6 separate regions of the Homo sapiens genome follow, and regions 1, 2, 3, 4 and 5 are each linked to region 6. Evidence: promoter capture Hi-C in 16 types of primary human blood cells and fetal thymus (Javierre and others, 2016). All regions are on one chromosome and are shown on one strand. The core of a region is centred on a gene start or on the middle of the fragment in contact, and the rest is flanking DNA. Distances in the headings are between cores, read along the strand shown. Region 1 holds the start of SCAP (SREBF chaperone). Region 2 has its middle 29 kb from the start of ELP6. Region 3 overlaps CDC25A (cell division cycle 25A). Region 4 overlaps PTPN23 (protein tyrosine phosphatase non-receptor type 23). Region 5 overlaps CDC25A (cell division cycle 25A). Region 6 holds the start of DHX30 (DExH-box helicase 30).

Region 1 (2,700 bases), core at 90-2,589, 330 kb after region 6:
GCGAATACTTTCTTTATAGGATCAAAATTCCCATATTAAGCCAAAAGACAATGCTGAAAATGTCATAACCCTGAAAGTCACTTTGGGCCAAGGCCCACTGTCCCCATTGTTACTTTCATTGTGACAATAGTGTGGTGGGCAAGGAGGGAGGCCAGAGTCCGGTGGGAACTGGGTTTTAGGAGGAGGTATCTGAAGAATGTGTAGTGGGTCGGGGGCTGGTGCGGTCAGAAGGGCCACCTCTAATTTCTGCCTTGCATTGGTGACTAGATCTGCACTTTCTGGAACTCCCAGAGAAGTTTGCTGGTGCCTTTGAGGGCAGGTACAGGGCCTGCCTTATCCAGGTAGCCCTGGGGTGGGTGCGGGTGTCTCGGGCAGTAGGCAGGGGCTGAGGGGAGGCTTACCTCTGACACAAGACCTGGGTACAGCAAGGGCATGCAGTAGCATGATCAAAGTCCCCCCAGAGTGGTCCGGGCAGCGTCTCTAGTTGGGCCAGAGCTGGGCAGGTGGGGACCTGTGTTTCCCTCGAGGGGAGGCAGCCTCCCCTTCCCCTTCTGTGAGGCCCTGTAACAAGACCTACCTCGGATTTTCAGGAGGGCCAAATGCGAGGACATGTACAATACCAGCTCCGCAACTGACACCTAGTAAACAGTGAACGTAGCTGTTGCTATTATAACAAATACCTGTTCCCTGTGGAAAATGGTTAAATGTCAACTTATGCTTTTAAATGTCTATAGGGAAACTAGTTTTATGGACATTATTTATTCTTCTCATCTGCATTTGCAGTGTATCTCGGCCCAGCTGCTTCTAATTTTTTGCCATTATAAAACAGGGAACATGAGCATCTTGTGCAGGGTGGGTTTTTTGTTTTTTGTCTCACTGTGGCCTCGACCTCCCGGGCTCAGGTGATCCTCCTACCTCAGCCTCCTGAGTAGCTGGGACCACAGGTGCGCGCCACCACAGCCGGCTAATTAATTTTACTTGTGGAGACGGAGGTCTCCTACGTTGCCCAAGTTGGTCTCTAACTCCTCGGCTCAAGCGATCTTCGCGCCTTGGACTCCCACAGTGTTGGGATTACAACCGCGAGCCACCGTGCCCGGCTTTCTGCAAGTTCTTGATGACCGATGAGAGCCGGTGGGCCCAAACCCGGCGGGCCCTAACCCGGCTTCACGCTCCGCCCGGCCCGGCCCGGCCCGGCCGTCCATACTTCCCTCCGGTGTCCACCAGAGGGCGAACGGGAGACGCGAATGTGGTTCGACTACGCATGCGCACGCCGCTGGGCGCACGTGCGGAGGGCGGCGGGGCGGGAGGGTAAAGGTAGGAGGTGAGAGGTGAAGGGGCGGGCACCCGGCGGCCAGGAGAGAGAGGGAGGGCGCCACGCACCGGACTGCGGGCCGAGAGCGCGCACGCCGCGCTCCGCCCCTGCTGCCGCCCCCGTCGCCGCCGCCGCCGCCGCCGCAGCTTGGGAGGTGCTGCCACCACAGGTACCGTCACGCGGGTGCTCAGGGCGCCTGCCCGCGGGCCCCAGCTCGACCCCAGCCGCGTGGAGCTGGGAGTTCCGGAATGGGGGCCGCTAGGTTCGGGGGTGCGTGGGCATGGCGCTGTCCAGCAGCCGTGCGGGCCGGCCCTGGAGACCGCAGGCCGGCAAGGAGGCAGGGCCGCGCGTCCCCACCCCCAACCCGGCCGTGTCCCTGCACCGGCCGGCCCCTGGAGCTCCGCGTCCCCACCAGACCTCCGCGGGCCCCTGGTGTGACGGGGGGAGATGCGCGGCGTCGCATCCCCTGGCCTAGTTGCTCCGGGAAGCTGTTGTAGAACCTGCTTTGGTGCTGTTTGGGTTTTCCGGAGTGCGGGGGAGAGCAGGTTCTCCACTTTGCCTCTTTTGGAAGATCTTATTGAGAGACAACGCTAGTTGCTTTGCTGGTTTTGCTTGGTTTCTAGTTTTCCGTATTGCTTAAACCTCAACTTTGCTCACTAATGTTGCTTCTGTTTACTTCTGAGTGGGTTTATGACCTCAGTATTTAACCGGCTTATAATGTCACGATAGCGTTAGTTGCAGGGAGCCCTGGCTCCGGACTGTTTGAATCACAGAAAGTTGTGCAGATGGGAATGCGGAGGGGGGGGCAGTGAGTCGCTGTGGGGGCTCTGGCAGGGGTCAGCCCCTGGTTCGGGTCACTCACTGCTCCACCTTGTATGGCGACAGTCGGAGCTAGGTGAATAAACTCTTTCTGGGGATTTTGTAATACTTATCGTGAAGCGGCCATAGAAAAGGTTTAATGTTAGCGTTGCGTGTGTTTCTTTTATTTGGCCAAAAATTTGTGGAGTTTGGTTATGCCGTGTCTTTATTGGTTTGCTGTCAGGTCAGGATATTGAGCAAAAGACTGACGCTTTTATTAGGGAGTCAGGGTCGAGGGTGTCTAGTTAGTGCTGTATCCATTTTAGGTGTTCCTCAGTGATGCCTAAAGACTTGTTTTTTGTTTGTTTGTTTGGAGACAGGGTCTCACTCTGTCTCCCAGGCTGGAGTGCAGTGGCGCGATCTCGGCTCACTGCAGCCTTGATTTCCTGGGCTCAGGTGATCCTCCCACCTCAGCCTCCCCAGTAGCTGGGACAGCAGGTGTGTGCCACCACGCCCGGCTAATTTTTGTATTTTTTTGTAGAGATGGGGGTCTTGCTGTGTTGCCCAGGCTGGTCTTTAACTCCTGGGCT
Region 2 (2,700 bases), core at 107-2,606, 260 kb after region 6:
AATCACTTGAACCTGGGAGGTGGAGGTTGCAGTGAGCTGAGATCGTGCCACTGCACTCCAGCCTGGGTTACAGAGCGAGACTCCGTCTCAAAACAAACAAACAAACAAATGAAAAACAATATTTCTGTGATGTTTACTATATGCCAGGTAGTGTTTGAAGTGCTTTACATATATTAACTCCTTTAATTCTTAGAGCTATCCTGTGTGATAGATACTTTTATTATCCCACCTTACAGAGGAGGAGGCCCAGGCACAGAGGTTAAATAGCTTTCCGGTGGTCAGATGGTGGAGCCAGGGCTGGGCTTTGAACCCAGAGCCTTCAGCCTGTGGAGTCAGTGCCCATAACCATTCTTTGCCTCTGTGTAGTTTTTCCGCATTGGTTTACTTGCTTTCTGCCTGAGGAGTCAGAATAGAGATTTCTGAGAGCAGGGATCCTGATTGTCTTGTTCACTACCTGGTCTCAGGGCACTCAGTAGGTGGTAGTCTTTGTTGAGTGAATGGATGGATGGATGAATGAATGCATGGTAGACTCTGTTTCCTTGAGGATGGAGCAGTTTCTTGTTTGCATCGTGGCCCTGGGCTTGGAAGAGGGCTGAGCCTTCTTGGGATGTATTGATGGGGCCTGTGGAGTGAGCTGAACTCTGGATCCCTGATGCCACCCCTCTCTGAGGCCCCCGGGGAGGCCTGTGCCGAGGTCTCAGGAGCCCTCAAAAGCGTGGCCCTTTGTTTGGGTTTGCCCTCTGGTTGCCGGGTGCTCCCTCGGCCGGCTCCCTCCTCCCTTCGCTGCAGAAGAAAGGGAGCTGGCCCTCTTTCCCCTTGGCACTATGTGTGCTCATTGGAAGTTCCTGAGGCCAGGCCCAGTGGGCGGCCCGAGCTGCCATCGTTAATCACACAGCCTGCTGCTGCCTGCCCACGCGGCTAGCTTTGAGGGCCGGCCAGAGCCTCTGGTGGGAACCACTCGCTGCTCTAATTGGGCCTCTCCTGGGAGGCGGCAGGCCCTGATTCTCACTTGTCTTTACTCTGGTGACTGCTTGGCCCTCTCAAGGAGGACAGCACGCTTCCTGGTCCGGCCGGCTCTATGGCCAGCCAGGGCAGAAGTTCACCCTTGTTCTACAGATGGAGAAACAGAAACCCTGGGGCAGACCGGGTCCATGTCCAAGGCCACGACAAGGTTGCCAGGAGTAACCACCAGAAAGCCAAGTGCCATGGCTTTGCTCCTCACTCTGCTGGCAACTGGAATGAGTTCCCACAGGAAAAAAGACCTCCCTTTGGCTCCCCTGGCTTCCCAGGCCCTGCCAAATGCCAGACACCGGACTCTAGCTTCTGGCATTCATAGAGAACTATCCATGTGAGAACTGTCACCCACCCCAGAGACCCTGCCAACCTGCAAAAAAGTGGAGGAGAGCATGACCAGCAGGAGCACACTGCAGGCCCCTCTGACACGGAGCGGGACAAGCTGGTAACCAGGTACCCATGTGACTTCCCTGCCCTGTGCCTTGATTTACCCTTCCTGGAAAATGGAAAGAGTTTCAGATGCATAATGTCAGGGACCAGGGGAGGCTTGTCTGTGAGGGACTTGCAACATGCTTTCCCCAGGCAGACTCAGAGAGACTCTCGGGGCAGGATGAGCTTGATCATCAGCTGGCCCCAGACCTCCATCTGTGGCTGAAATCACCCCTGCAAAATTTCAAAGATCATGCACCTCGCACAGTTGGACTTCCTCCAGCAGAAAGCCCTCATGACTTCCCACCGTGCTTCACTCCCTGTTTTGTTCTTCTACCACTTCCCCACCTTCCCCACCTTTTGTTAGATGGGTCATTTTTTCAGTGAGCCCTCCTGCCTCCCTGAGTCACACTGTGGACCTAGTCTACTCTCTGAGCGCTTGGAATAAATGAGTAAGTCCTCCTTTTTCTTTCATCATCTTTCCAAGAACAAAATACAACTAGAGTGCCACTCCTGAACCTTCTCTCCTCTTGGCTGAATGTCTTTAGTCCCCTCAGCTGACCCTCACGTGACAGCTCTCCTGGCCCCTCAATGTCACAGGTGCTTTTCTTAGGACATTTGTGGGGGTTCGGAAGGGGCTGCGCTTCTCTAGGTGCTGCCTGAACTCAGAGGAGCACACATGCCTCCTTGCCCAGGCACACATGAACATTCACAGGGCAGGACTGGGGGACACACAGAGGGCCATGTCTGAAAGTTTATGAGTAATCGTACAAACTAACTATTCAATAAGCAAATCTCCACTCTGACCTTCATGATGACTTGGAATGCTAAGTTTGAATTTAGATTTCTTGGACTCCTCAGAGTTCTGTTTGAGAATGTGCTGGGGCCGGGAGAGGAGCCCTGCTGCCCCCAACCTGGTCCCTCTCCTTGTATCCCGGGCTGTACCTGTAATGCAGGGGATTTCAGGGATCCGCGTGCGGCCCCCTGAGGCCACATGTTCCCGCTTTGTTCACAATCCCTTAGCCTCCTCTCAGACCCCATCGCTAGGGGAGCAGGGGCTTGGAGCCTTTTGGGCAAGAGATTCTGGGATCCCCAGTGCCAAGCATGGTGTGTGGCCTCTGAGTGGGCATGTCCTTTGCCTCTGAGGAGCATTGCCCCACGGGGAGGATCACGGCCCTTCTTGCCCGGGTCTGAGGACCTCAGTGACTTGCTAACATCATGCATCTCTCAGTTTAGTCACCCTGAGCTGGTCCCCAA
Region 3 (2,700 bases), core at 189-2,688, 360 kb before region 6:
TGAGATACAGGTGCCAAATGGTCTACTGGGCTATTCAGCTAGAAGAACTGCAAAAATCACAAACTGGTCTTGTGGACTTAAAGATCACTCTTGATGAATCATTACATCTTGCTGAATCATTACTTCATGTGTGAAACGTGCAGGTTCCAAGGGTCTCTGTTGTCTTCACAGGGTGCAGTGAACTTGCACATGGAAGAAGAGGTTGAAGACTTCTTATTGAAGAAGCCCATTGTACCTACTGATGGCAAGCGTGTCATTGTTGTGTTTCACTGCGAGTTTTCTTCTGAGAGAGGTCCCCGCATGTGAGTGCTGCACGGAACTGGGTTCTGGGGCACAGGCTCCATGATGCTTTTGTGGGACATGGTGGTTTGTGGCTTGCACTTGGAGCATATTTTAGCATATCAAGCAACCTCTGGCACATAACAAGCCATTTTCATATGTAATTTTATCCTGAGGTGAACTTTGGCTCTTCCAGTCTCCCCGACTGTCCTTAGTCTGATCTGTGGGGCTACTGTTCTCATGTGACCTCCTTCAAGTACAAAGTGACCGTTCCTTATGCAAATGCCAGAAAAGTGTGAAGTTCTCATTCTGTAAAACCTCATATGATATGATGCTTTGAAACACTTGATATTATTACCAATTTCAGGGTGAAAAGAAAAAAGGGGGCCAAAGAGCTGCCCATCAGTCATCTGTGTCCATTCTAAAAGGATTGCAAGCCTGCTGTTTGTCAGGCACTGACAATAAAAATGTAACTACAGTAAAACACAGTACAGTAAAAATACCACAGCGAGCAGGACCAACAAGGACCCTACTGCAGCAGAGATCCAAGTGGGGATCCGTATAAATGCTAGGAGGACAGGCAGAGAGGTAGGACAGAGAGTGCAGCTTAACTAGGATGGTCCAAGGGAGACTTCTGCAGGACCACGTTCTTATGCCACCTTTTTATTTTGAACCAATTTATTTTAAAAAACATTTTTAAATTAAAAAATTTCAATTTTTTTTTTTTGACGGAGTTTTGCTCTTGTTGCCCAGGCTGGAGTGCAGTGGCACAATCTCTTCTCACTGCAACCTCTGCCTCCCAGGTTCAAGCAGTTCTCCTGCCTCAGCCTCCCAAGTAGCTGGGATTACAGGCATGCGCCATCACGCCCGGCTAATTTTGTATTTTTAGTAGAGGCAGGGTTTCTACATGTTGGTCAGGCTGGTCTTGAACTCCCGACCTTAGGTGATCCGCCTGCCTCAGCCTCCCAAAGTAGTGGGATTACAGGCGTGAGCCACTGCACCTGGCTTTTTCTTTCTTTCTTTCTTTCTTTTTTTTTTTTTTTTTTGAGGCGGAGGCACACTGTTTTCACCCAGACTGGAATGCAGTGGCATGATCTCGGCTCACTGCAACCTCCACCTCCTGGGTTCAAGCGATTCTCCTGCCTCAGCCTCCTGAGTAGCTGGGATAACAGGCGTGCACCACCACACCCGGCTAATTTTTGTATTTGTAGTAGAGATGGGGGTTTCACCATGTTGGCCGGGCTGGTCTTGAACTCCTGACCTCAGGTGATCCACCCGCCTTGACCTCCCAAAGTGCTGGGATTACAGGTGTGAGCCACCACGCCCAGCAGAAATTTCAAATTTTGAGATGGGGTCTTAATATATTGGCCAGGTTGGTCTCAAACTCCTGGCCTCAAGCAATCCTCTCTCCTTGGCCTCCAAAGTGCTAGGATTGCAGGCATGAGCCACTGTGCCCACCCCTTTGAACCTTTTTTTTTTTTTGAGACGGAGTCTCGCTCTGTCACCCAGGCTGGAGTGCAGTGGCACAATCTCGACTTACTGCAAGCTCCGCCTCCTGGGTTCATGCCATTCTCCTGCCTCAGCCTCCCGAGTAGCTGGGACTACAGGTGCCCACCATCACGCCTGGCTAATTTTTTTGTATTTTTAGTAGAGACAGGGTTTCACCATTTTAGCCAGGATGGTCTCCATCTCCTGACCTTGCGATCTGCCCGTCTCGGCCTCCCAAAGTGCTTGGATTACAGGCGTGAGCCACTGCGCCTGACCTGAACCATTTTAAAGCTCAAGAAGAGGTGAGGTTATGGCTGGGCACAGTGGCACCTGTAATCCCAACACTTTGGGAGGCCGAGGCAGGAGGATCACTTGCTCGGGAGTTTCAGACCAGACCAACCTGGGTAACACAGTGGGACCACACCTCTACAAAAAATAGGAGGTGGGAGGATCGTTTGAGCCCAGCAGGTCGAGGCTGTGGTGAGCCATGATCATGCCACTGTACTCCAGCCTAGGTGACAGAGTGAGATTCTGTCTCTCTCTCACACACACACACACACACACACACACACACAAAGGTTATACTTGCACACACTTCACCTGATTTTATTAATTTTTAACATTTTGTCACATTTGTATGTACATGCTCTACACACAGGCAACTACAGTACAACTTGACACTTTTGACTGTCATCTCATAAGTCCTTCAAACATCTGTCTCCAAAGGATGCTCATTCATGAATGGAATTATTCACTCAGCAGTTTTTTTGTTTGTTTGTTTGAGATGTAGTCTTGCTCTGCCACCCAGACTGGAGTGCAGTGGTGCGATCTCGGATCACTGCAACCTCCACCTCCCGGGTTCAAGCAATTCTCCTGCCTCAGGCTCCCAAGTAGCTGGGACTACGGGTGCATGCCACCATGCCAAGCTAATGT
Region 4 (2,700 bases), core at 90-2,589, 400 kb after region 6:
CACGAGGTCAGGAGATCAAGACCACCCTGGCTAACAAGGTGAAACCCTGTCTCTACTAAAAATACAAAAATTAGCCAGGCATGGTGACGGGCACCTGTAGTCCCAGCTACTTGGGAGGCTGAGGCAGAAGAATGGCGTGAACCCGGGAGGCGGAGCTTGCAGTAAGCCGAGATTGCGCCACTGCACTCCAGCCTGGGCAACAGAGTGAGACTCCATCTCAAAAAATAAAATAATAAAACAAAATAAATAAAATAAAATAAAATAAAAGCCGGGTGCTGTGGCTCACACCTATAATCCCAGCACTTTGGGAGGCCAAGGCGGGTGGATCACCTGAGGTTGAGAGTTTGAGACCAGTCTGGCCAACATGGAGAAACCCTGTCTCTACTAAAAATACAAAATATAGCTGGGCGTGATGGCGAGTGCCTGTAATCCCAGCTACTCGGGAGGCTGAGGCAGGAGAATCGCTTGAACCCTGGAGGCAGAGGTTGTGGTGAGCCGAGGTTGTGCCATTGCACTCCACCCTGGGCAATAGGAGTGAAACTCTGTGTCAAAAATAAATAAATAATAAAATAAAATTTGTCTTGTACTTCCTAAAACCATCTTTGGGAAACAATGGAAGCAGTCTCCCCTCCAGATCCAAGAGATCACCTGTACCCTTTAATCCACCCAAGAATGCAGCCCCCTGTGGTTCTAGCCTGGTCTGTCAGACTCTCAGACGAGCTGCGCAGAGCCGCACAGAGGAGTCTGAGAGAGAGCTTGATGCTGTGATGCCCCCATAGCATCCCCTGCACCTGTCAGTTTTATTCCCTGTAATCACAGAGCCAAGAATTTATTTCAGAGTTTAAAAAGGAAAGTCTTCCTAGAAACAACTATTCAAACCCTGGTTTTACAGATGAGGAAACTGAGGCTCAGATCAGGGAAAGAGGACTGCCTAAAGCTTCCAATAACTTTTTCACTGAAAGATTATTATCAACGTCCTATGTAAGAAAATTTGTTCTGGGGTTTCACAAGTATAAGGAACAGTGATCTAGACTAGGCGTGGTGACTCACGCCTGTAATCCCAGCATTTTCGGAGGCTGAGGCAGAGGATTGCTTGAGGCCAGTAGTTTAAGACCAGCCTGGGGAATATACGAGACTCCATGTCTACAAAAAATACAAAAATTAGCCAGGCATGGTGGTGCATACTTGTCCCAGGTACTCAGGAGGCTGAGGTAGGAGGATCGCTTGAATCCAGGAGGCAGACGTTGCAATGAGCCAAGATAGACTGCACCCCAGCCTGGGTGACAGAGTGAGACTCTGTCTTTAAAAACAAAAACAAAAAAAACAGTGATCTAGTCCAACTCCCACATTGCTGGGATAAATTAAACCAAGTCCCAGGAAGGGGAAGTGGCTACCCCAGATGGCCATGTGTGAGCTTTTTTCGCACTGGAAAAGCACAGGTCTGAAGGCTGCTGGCTCACAGCTCTCTCAGGGGCTGCTCTACCCAGCCCATTGCTCTGTGCAGGTTGCCTGCCTTATGCTTTGGAGGATATGTCTCAGAGGATGCTTTGGAGATTGGTGGTAATGCTCCTTCTAGGGTGTGTTGCGTCCTTGTGTGTAGTGTGTGCCTGTGTGTGCAAAATGACGGTTGCCCCAGGGGCTAAGATTATCTCACTAGTTTTCAAACTTTGTTCAAATAAACCCTTTTTAAAGATTCAACTTATGAGGAGGGTTCTGAGAAGACAGCATAAGAAGAAGCTTGGTCTCCCCACCAAGACAAGCTGCACTGGCAGAATCTGACTTAACTCTGGAGTCTATTAAAGGCTTGCAACTTCTAGGCAAAGGCTTTGACAGTACAGCTCACTGCCATTAATTTTGGTCAATTTCAGCCCCTACCATAGTAGCAGCCACCCATCCCCCACCCCCAGCACCAGTTCCAGGAGCAGCTTGTGGGAGCCAGCATGGACAAAAAGGACTCTGTCCTCCAAATACAGGAGATCTTGCTGATTGCTGCTTCTGATCACAGAGGTACAGAGAAAGAGGCAGCTCCTCCACTATTGCACCTCCCTCCACGGCTGTAAGCTTCTTCACCTCTAGCTGAAGGAACTTCCAAGGGATCTAAAGGCCTGGCATCTTTTCCCTTCTTCATTTTTCTCTTTTTCCTCCTTTGGGAGGCAGACACTAAAGAGTAAGATGTTCAAAAGCAACCACATATATAGGGCAAATGAGAAAGTCTGCACATGTGCAGGGAATGGTACAGGCTCAGAAAAGACCTGTGAAGACCTTAAGTTTACAAGGCCGGGTGCTGCGGCTCATGCCTTTAATCCCAACACTTTGGGAGGCTGGGGCCAGAAGATCACTTGAGCCCAGGAGTTTGAGACCAGCCTGGGCAACACAGGGGAACCCCATCTCTACAAAAAATTTAAAAATTGGCTGGATGCGGTGGTGTGCACTTGTAGTCCCAGCTACTTGGGGGCTGCAGTGGGAGGATGGTTTGAACTGGGGAGATGGAGGCTGCAGTGAGCCGTGATTGTGCCACTGCACTCCTGCCTGGACGACAGAGCGAAACCCTGTCTCGGGAAAAAAAAAAAAAAAACTTTAAGTTTACATTTCAGGCTGATTCTTGGCACAGGGGTAGCCTACAACAATCAAAAACACACAAAAAAACCCAGCAAATCCCGGGGAAGGGGGAGAATCTGATATCCAGAGATATGACATCAT
Region 5 (2,700 bases), core at 38-2,537, 380 kb before region 6:
ATTCACCATACCACTGTAAGTGGCATTCAGGCAATCTTACTGGTTAAAATACAGGATCAAATGATTGGAAGTACAGTGTCATGAAATCATTTCAGTGATGCTGCTATGGAGGAAATTGCCAGTGCATTTCATTCTTCATGAATTCATATTACTGCAGAGTTTATCTGTATTTGTACAGATAAGACCATTGGTGCAAAGATCCTTTAGGTTAAAGGAACTGCAAGAGCAAGTCTTAAAATGTAATGTAGGCTTCTGTATGTAGAATGTAATTTAATATAGAACTGGGGATAGGATTATCACTTGTAGCAGTGTGGTGAGCAAGGGCTGTAACACCTCACTTTCCATAAGGCTGTATAGACACATGAGCTATGGGTGGGTGGGTCTGCGTCATCTGAGCTGGCATATTAGTAATGCTGAACAGTGTCTCCTTCACCCTGCTGCCTTTTGTGAGATGGACACCTTGGTGTCATTTTGTTAAAGGCAGCAAGTGCTTGCCTTGCATGTCATGACCAGTAGTTGTATTTTTCTTTTTCATTTTGAGACAAGGTCTCAACTCTGTCACCCAGGCAACTCTGCCTCCCAGATTTAGAGAATTCTTCTGCCTCAGCTTCCCTAGTAGCTGGAATTACAGGTGTGGGTCTCAAACTTCTGATCTCAGGTGATCCACCCACTTCGACCTCCCAAAGTGCTGAGATTACAGGGGTGAGCTACTGCACCTGGCCTTTTTTTTTTTTTTTTTTTGAGACAGGGTCTTGCTCTGTTTTCCAGGTCTCAGGCTGGTGTACAGTGGCACAATCAGGGTTCACTGTAGCTTCAACTTTCCGAGCTCAAGCGAACCTCCCACTCCAGCCTCCCCAAGTAGCTGGGACTACAGACACGTGCCACCACACCCAACTAATTTTTTTTTTAACTTTGGTAGAGTCAAGTCTCACTATGTTGCCCCAGGCTTGTTTTGAACTTGTGGCCTCAAGCCATCAGCCTGCCTCAGCCTCCCAAAGTATTGGAATCACAGGTGTGAGCCACTGTGCCTGGTCAGTAGTTGTATTTTTCAAGCCTCATATGATTTGACAAGGTAAAACGTTTAAAAACTATGCCAAGAAAATCTGGTACCTATTGTTTCTATGGTTGGAACTCACAGAAAGTTATCTGGGTCACCTCTATCTGAATAACCAAACAATCATGATATGAATCAGTTTTATTCACCCTCTTCTCAAATCCTATTTCCCTTGATGTTATTTGCAAATAGGAGAAAAAACAGTAAATACGCTATGAAAATATTAAGACTTGTACAAACATGACATTTTTGACAATCTAATAGACGTAACATCAATTCTGGCAAAAGTACAAGCCATGAATATTTGTTGCCTGACTTAAATAAAGACCCAGGTACTTTGTTTAGTGTTTTAATTTTAATGACAAAATGGTGTTTTTTGTATTATTTCTTGAGAGGTTTTTTTTTTCCCCATAGGTTTCTGTCTAGATTCTCCTGGGCCATTGGACAGTAAAGAAAAGTATGTATTCACTGCTTTCAAATGTTTATATGTAGAAAAAACGTGTCTAAACTTAAATACCTTATTTAAATGAAGTTCTTCATACACTGGACTGGAGCCCTGGATTTACCTGTGCCTAGAAACACTCTGGAATCTCAAGAATGAATAGTTTGTGTCAGCAATTTTCAGAACTTTTTCTCCTTTATTTTAGCTATAATTTTGGTGTTCTGTTTGGGTCTTACCCAAACCCTTACTCTGTGCTCTGACATCATAGCCTTACAAGAACATGTGGGGTTTTTTTGTTTGTTTGTTTGTTTGTTTCTGAGGCAGAGTCTCACTCTGCCGCCCAGGCTAGAGTGCAGTGGCTCACTGCAACCTCCACCTCCCAGGTTCAACTGATTCTCCTGCCTCAGCCTCCCGAGTAGCTGGGACTACAGGAGTGCACCACCACACCCGGTTAATTTTTGTATTTTTAGTAGACACGAGGTTTCATCGTGTTGGCCAGGCCAGGAGTTCGAGACTCCTGACCTCGTGATATACCCTCCTCGGCCTCCCATAGTGCCCATAGTGCTGGGATTACATGTGTGAGCCACCGCGCCCAGCCGAATGTGTGTATTTTAAGAAAAGACATGGGTTTGTTTTTTTTCACCTAGAAGTCTAGTGTTGGGGGTGCTCCTGAGAACAGGACAGCTTCAGAAATTTATTCTCCCATCTCTTGCCTAAAATGGGAGTCTGTGACTGTACCCCCAAGCTACAGGCTAAACACTATCTCTCTGCTAATATGAATACCTCTTTACTTGTTTTATTCTCATTATTTACCTTCTGATCTCATTACAGCCTTGAAAATCCTATGAGAAGAATACATTCCCTACCTGTAAGTTAGTTCCTTGTTTATTTTGAGCTAATACCTGTTATCTGTTCCTTAGCTACCAGCATGACCTTGATAGGAGACTTAATTTAGAGAGTAAAAACTGCTTTTCTTTAGTCTCTTTTGAGACAAGGTCTTGCTCTGTCACCCAGGCTGGAGTGCAGTGGCAAAATCTTGGCTCACTGCAACCTCTGCTTCCCTGGCTCAAGTGATCCTCCCACCTCAACTTCCAGAGGAGCTGGGACTATATATAGGTGCACACCATCACACCCGGCTGATTTTTGTATTTTTTGTAGACATGGGGGTCTCACTCTGTTGCCCAGGCTGGTTTCAAACTCCTGC
Region 6 (2,700 bases), core at 7-2,506:
TAGTAGAAACGAGGTCTAGCCATGTTGGCCAGGCTGGTCTCAAACTTCTGACCTCAGGTGATCCACCCGCCTCGGCCTCCCAAAGTGCTGGGATTACAGGCGTGAGACACCGCTCCCGGCCCTAATAAAACTTTGTATCACAGCTACATAAATTAAAACACTTGAAGAGCAACTATCTTTTAGGGATAAAGAGCCAACACCGGTAGAAAACGCAGCAAAGGATGTAGTTTCTGCACATCGCCTTAAATCTCTAAGATTTAAGTGTAAATTACAAGATGTAGTTAAAACCCACAATGACAGTGGGGTTACCACCTTGCAAGAAACTTCAAGGGAAATCACCAGACAACGTCTCATTTCACTCTGGCCCATAAGCTGCAACTAAAACCAGGTTGAAAGCCTGTAAGTGGCCTTCTGCAGTCTACCTGCTAGTGTATGGCAAACCCTCATGGAGTGGGGTTGTAAAGTGAAACAGCCTCTGCCTTGAAAAATCATAATTCAAGTGACCAATGTTGCTACACAACGACTAGATATGCCATATCCCTGGCTTAGGGTTTCTGAGGACCCCTGGGACTCCAGTTCACTGCAAACAAAGGACCCAACATGCATTTGGTCTTCCCCTGCTAAATGGGACAAGTTACCACCAGCAAACAAAGAATACCTCACCCCTTGGCCTCCCCCAGTGACAAGGTCGGTGCAAAAGGGGGCAAACTAGGGGGGCCAGAAGGCACCGGGCCTCCCTCTGGACGAACGGTCCGGGCAGCACCGGGAAGGAGGAGAAGTAGACAAAGGTCTCGGGGCACTCAGGAGGCTTCCTCCAGGCCCTGCCTGGGGAAACGGCGCATCCCGAGGCGAAGGCGTCGTTGCGCCAATGAAGCGGCCTCTCCCACGGCCTCCGCGGAGCCCCTGGCTGCGAGGCCCGCCCCGGCGGACCGGTCTGGCCCCCGCCCCCGCCCGGGCTCCATGGCAACGGCAGGCCGAGGCCTGGCTGCCCACGGATCGGCCGGGCCGGCTTCCCGGGCAGGCCTAGGATGCCCGGCCTGCTCCTCGGGCCCGCCGGCGTCTCCGCCCCACTCTCCGCCAGGCTGGCGGTCGGACCGGGCCCCCTCCTCACGACGACCACCCCCGGCCGCGGCAGGCTCCTCAAGAGGGCACGAAAGGGGAGAATAAAAAGCCCAATTCACCTGTTGTTACAGATGTGAAACAAGCCTCTGTGCACCGCGCATGAGCCGCGGCTCCCCCAACCACGGCCGGACTACAACTCCCAGCAGCGGCGGCGCGGCCCCTTCCGAGTCCCGTGGCGGAAGTCCCGCCACCGGCCCGGCGTTCCCCACCCGGCGTCACGGAGCCCGCCTGCGGCGCACGGCTCCGCTCCCCCGCGGGCCTGGAGCCCGGCCCCACCTGGGACTCGTCGTAGCCGCTCGGGGCACCCAGCGCCCGGGATGCCCCAGCACCCGGCCCAATGGGGCGCGGCGGCGGTGCAGGCGGGACTTCCGGCGGAGTCGCGAAGGGGACGGGTTGGCGCCGGCTGCTCTGGGGTCGCAGAGCGAGCGGGTTTGGGTGGCGGGGTCGGGCGTCAAGTTGCTGCCTTTCTCGGCGACTTAGCTGCCTGCAGTGTGAAAGCGGGAAGGGTCTTCTCGCCCTCTGCGAGCCACCCGCGCCTCCTGATGCGAATAAACAGCCCGGGTCATGGCTGAGCGGGGAACGGTTTCCAGCTCGGGCTCCGGGATTCCACCCGCCTTCCCCGCCACAGCTCGTAGCCACGCCTCTTCTCTTCCCCATCTCCCCTCTAATCTGTTTTTTTAGGGAGGTGAGCATTTTTGTCTTGTCTCCCCAGTTTGCAGGGAAGATGAAATCAACGTGTTGGTTCGTTGATTTCGTAAACTGTACAACGTTAGGCAAAGGACAAGGTGGCACTTGCTGGTCGCGGGGAGAGTGCCAGTCATAGTTGCTGGAAATCTGGAGGTCCGCCCGGCCACATCACCTCTTAGGAATGAGAAAGGGGATTGTCCCAATTACACGCTGTAGTCCTCTAGATAAGGTTCAAGTATAGGTTCAGTGGAATTCAGCTTCAAAAGGAAACAACGCAGTGGCGTAGCTCTGAAGCTGGGTCAGGATTTTACAGAGTATGGTTTTAAGATGTGGCCTTTAGGCCGGGCGTGGTGGCTCACGCCTGTAATCCCAGCACTTTGGGAGGCCAAGGCGGGTGGATCACCTGCGGTCAGGAGTTCAAAACCAGCCTGGCCAACATGGTGAAACCCCGTCTCAACTAAAAATGCAAAAAAATTAGCTGGGCGTGGTGGCGGGCGCATATAATCCTAGCTACTTCGGGAGGCTGAGGCAGGAGAATCACTTGAACCCGGGAGGCGGATGTTGCAGTAAGCCGAGATCGTGTCATTGAACTCCAGCCTGGGCGACAAGAATGAAACTTAAAAAAAAAAAAAAAAAAAGATGTGACCTTTGAGGCTGTATGAAGAATTAGTGCCATATCCCGTCACTTTTGTGTGCAAACAGTTCAACATGTATCTCTTTTCTTTCTCTCTACATTGGCTAGAAGACCGGGGTGTGGGGGTGGAACATCATTTATTCATTCAAATAATTAGTGCATCTGAACAGGGCATGGTGCTGTGTTGTGTGGAGAATAGAGAGATCCCTGCACGGACATCTGAGTGCTCTGTGTATCAGTTGCTAAGCTGGTGTGGA

The links. Contacts are between HindIII fragments. The CHiCAGO score rates a contact against its expected background, and 5 or more counts as called.
Region 1: the fragment with the promoter of SCAP here is called in contact with the fragment with the promoter of DHX30 in region 6 in 2 of 17 cell types (endothelial precursors and neutrophils); the score reaches 6.5 in endothelial precursors.
Region 2: a contact is called between a fragment that was not itself captured here and the fragment with the promoter of DHX30 in region 6, in 3 of 17 cell types (endothelial precursors, megakaryocytes and erythroblasts). The highest score is 9.4, in endothelial precursors.
Region 3: a contact is called between a fragment that was not itself captured here and the fragment with the promoter of DHX30 in region 6, in 1 of 17 cell types (endothelial precursors). The highest score is 5.0, in endothelial precursors.
Region 4: a fragment that was not itself captured here is called in contact with the fragment with the promoter of DHX30 in region 6 in 3 of 17 cell types (megakaryocytes, endothelial precursors and M2 macrophages); the score reaches 5.8 in megakaryocytes.
Region 5: a contact is called between a fragment that was not itself captured here and the fragment with the promoter of DHX30 in region 6, in 1 of 17 cell types (endothelial precursors). The highest score is 6.1, in endothelial precursors.

The regions. Positions count from the first base shown.
Region 1 is chr3:47,474,580-47,477,279 of GRCh38, reverse strand. SCAP (SREBF chaperone) reads left to right here and starts at 1,339. Exons shown (of 23, transcript NM_012235.4): 1 at 1,339-1,481. LOC105377073 (a long non-coding RNA gene) reads right to left here and starts at 1,335. Exons shown (of 3, transcript XR_940821.3): 1 at 916-1,335; 2 at 578-638. RefSeq lists a silencer at 1,252-1,791. The HindIII fragment of the contact is 8,042 bases long and covers 1-2,700 here.
Region 2 is chr3:47,541,092-47,543,791 of GRCh38, reverse strand. No RefSeq gene overlaps it. Among named protein-coding and RNA genes, the nearest start is that of ELP6, 29 kb to the right of the region's middle. RefSeq lists an enhancer at 347-847. The HindIII fragment of the contact is 3,910 bases long and covers 1-2,700 here.
Region 3 is chr3:48,161,909-48,164,608 of GRCh38, reverse strand. It overlaps CDC25A (cell division cycle 25A), which reads left to right. Exons shown (of 15, transcript NM_001789.3): 13 at 172-302. Among named protein-coding and RNA genes, the nearest start is that of CDC25A, 25 kb to the left of the region's middle. The HindIII fragment of the contact is 8,518 bases long and covers 1-2,700 here.
Region 4 is chr3:47,398,440-47,401,139 of GRCh38, reverse strand. All of the region lies in intron 2 of PTPN23 (protein tyrosine phosphatase non-receptor type 23), which reads right to left. Among named protein-coding and RNA genes, the nearest start is that of PTPN23-DT, 18 kb to the right of the region's middle. RefSeq lists a silencer at 2,427-2,608. The HindIII fragment of the contact is 800 bases long and covers 940-1,739 here.
Region 5 is chr3:48,183,464-48,186,163 of GRCh38, reverse strand. CDC25A (cell division cycle 25A) reads left to right here. Exons shown (of 15, transcript NM_001789.3): 3 at 1,469-1,511; 4 at 2,328-2,364. Among named protein-coding and RNA genes, the nearest start is that of CDC25A, 3.6 kb to the left of the region's middle. The HindIII fragment of the contact is 4,715 bases long and covers 1-2,700 here.
Region 6 is chr3:47,801,694-47,804,393 of GRCh38, reverse strand. It overlaps DHX30 (DExH-box helicase 30), which reads right to left and starts at 1,256. Exons shown (of 22, transcript NM_138615.3): 1 at 1,182-1,256. RefSeq lists an enhancer at 586-1,111 and a silencer at 836-1,685. The HindIII fragment of the contact is 8,641 bases long and covers 1-2,700 here.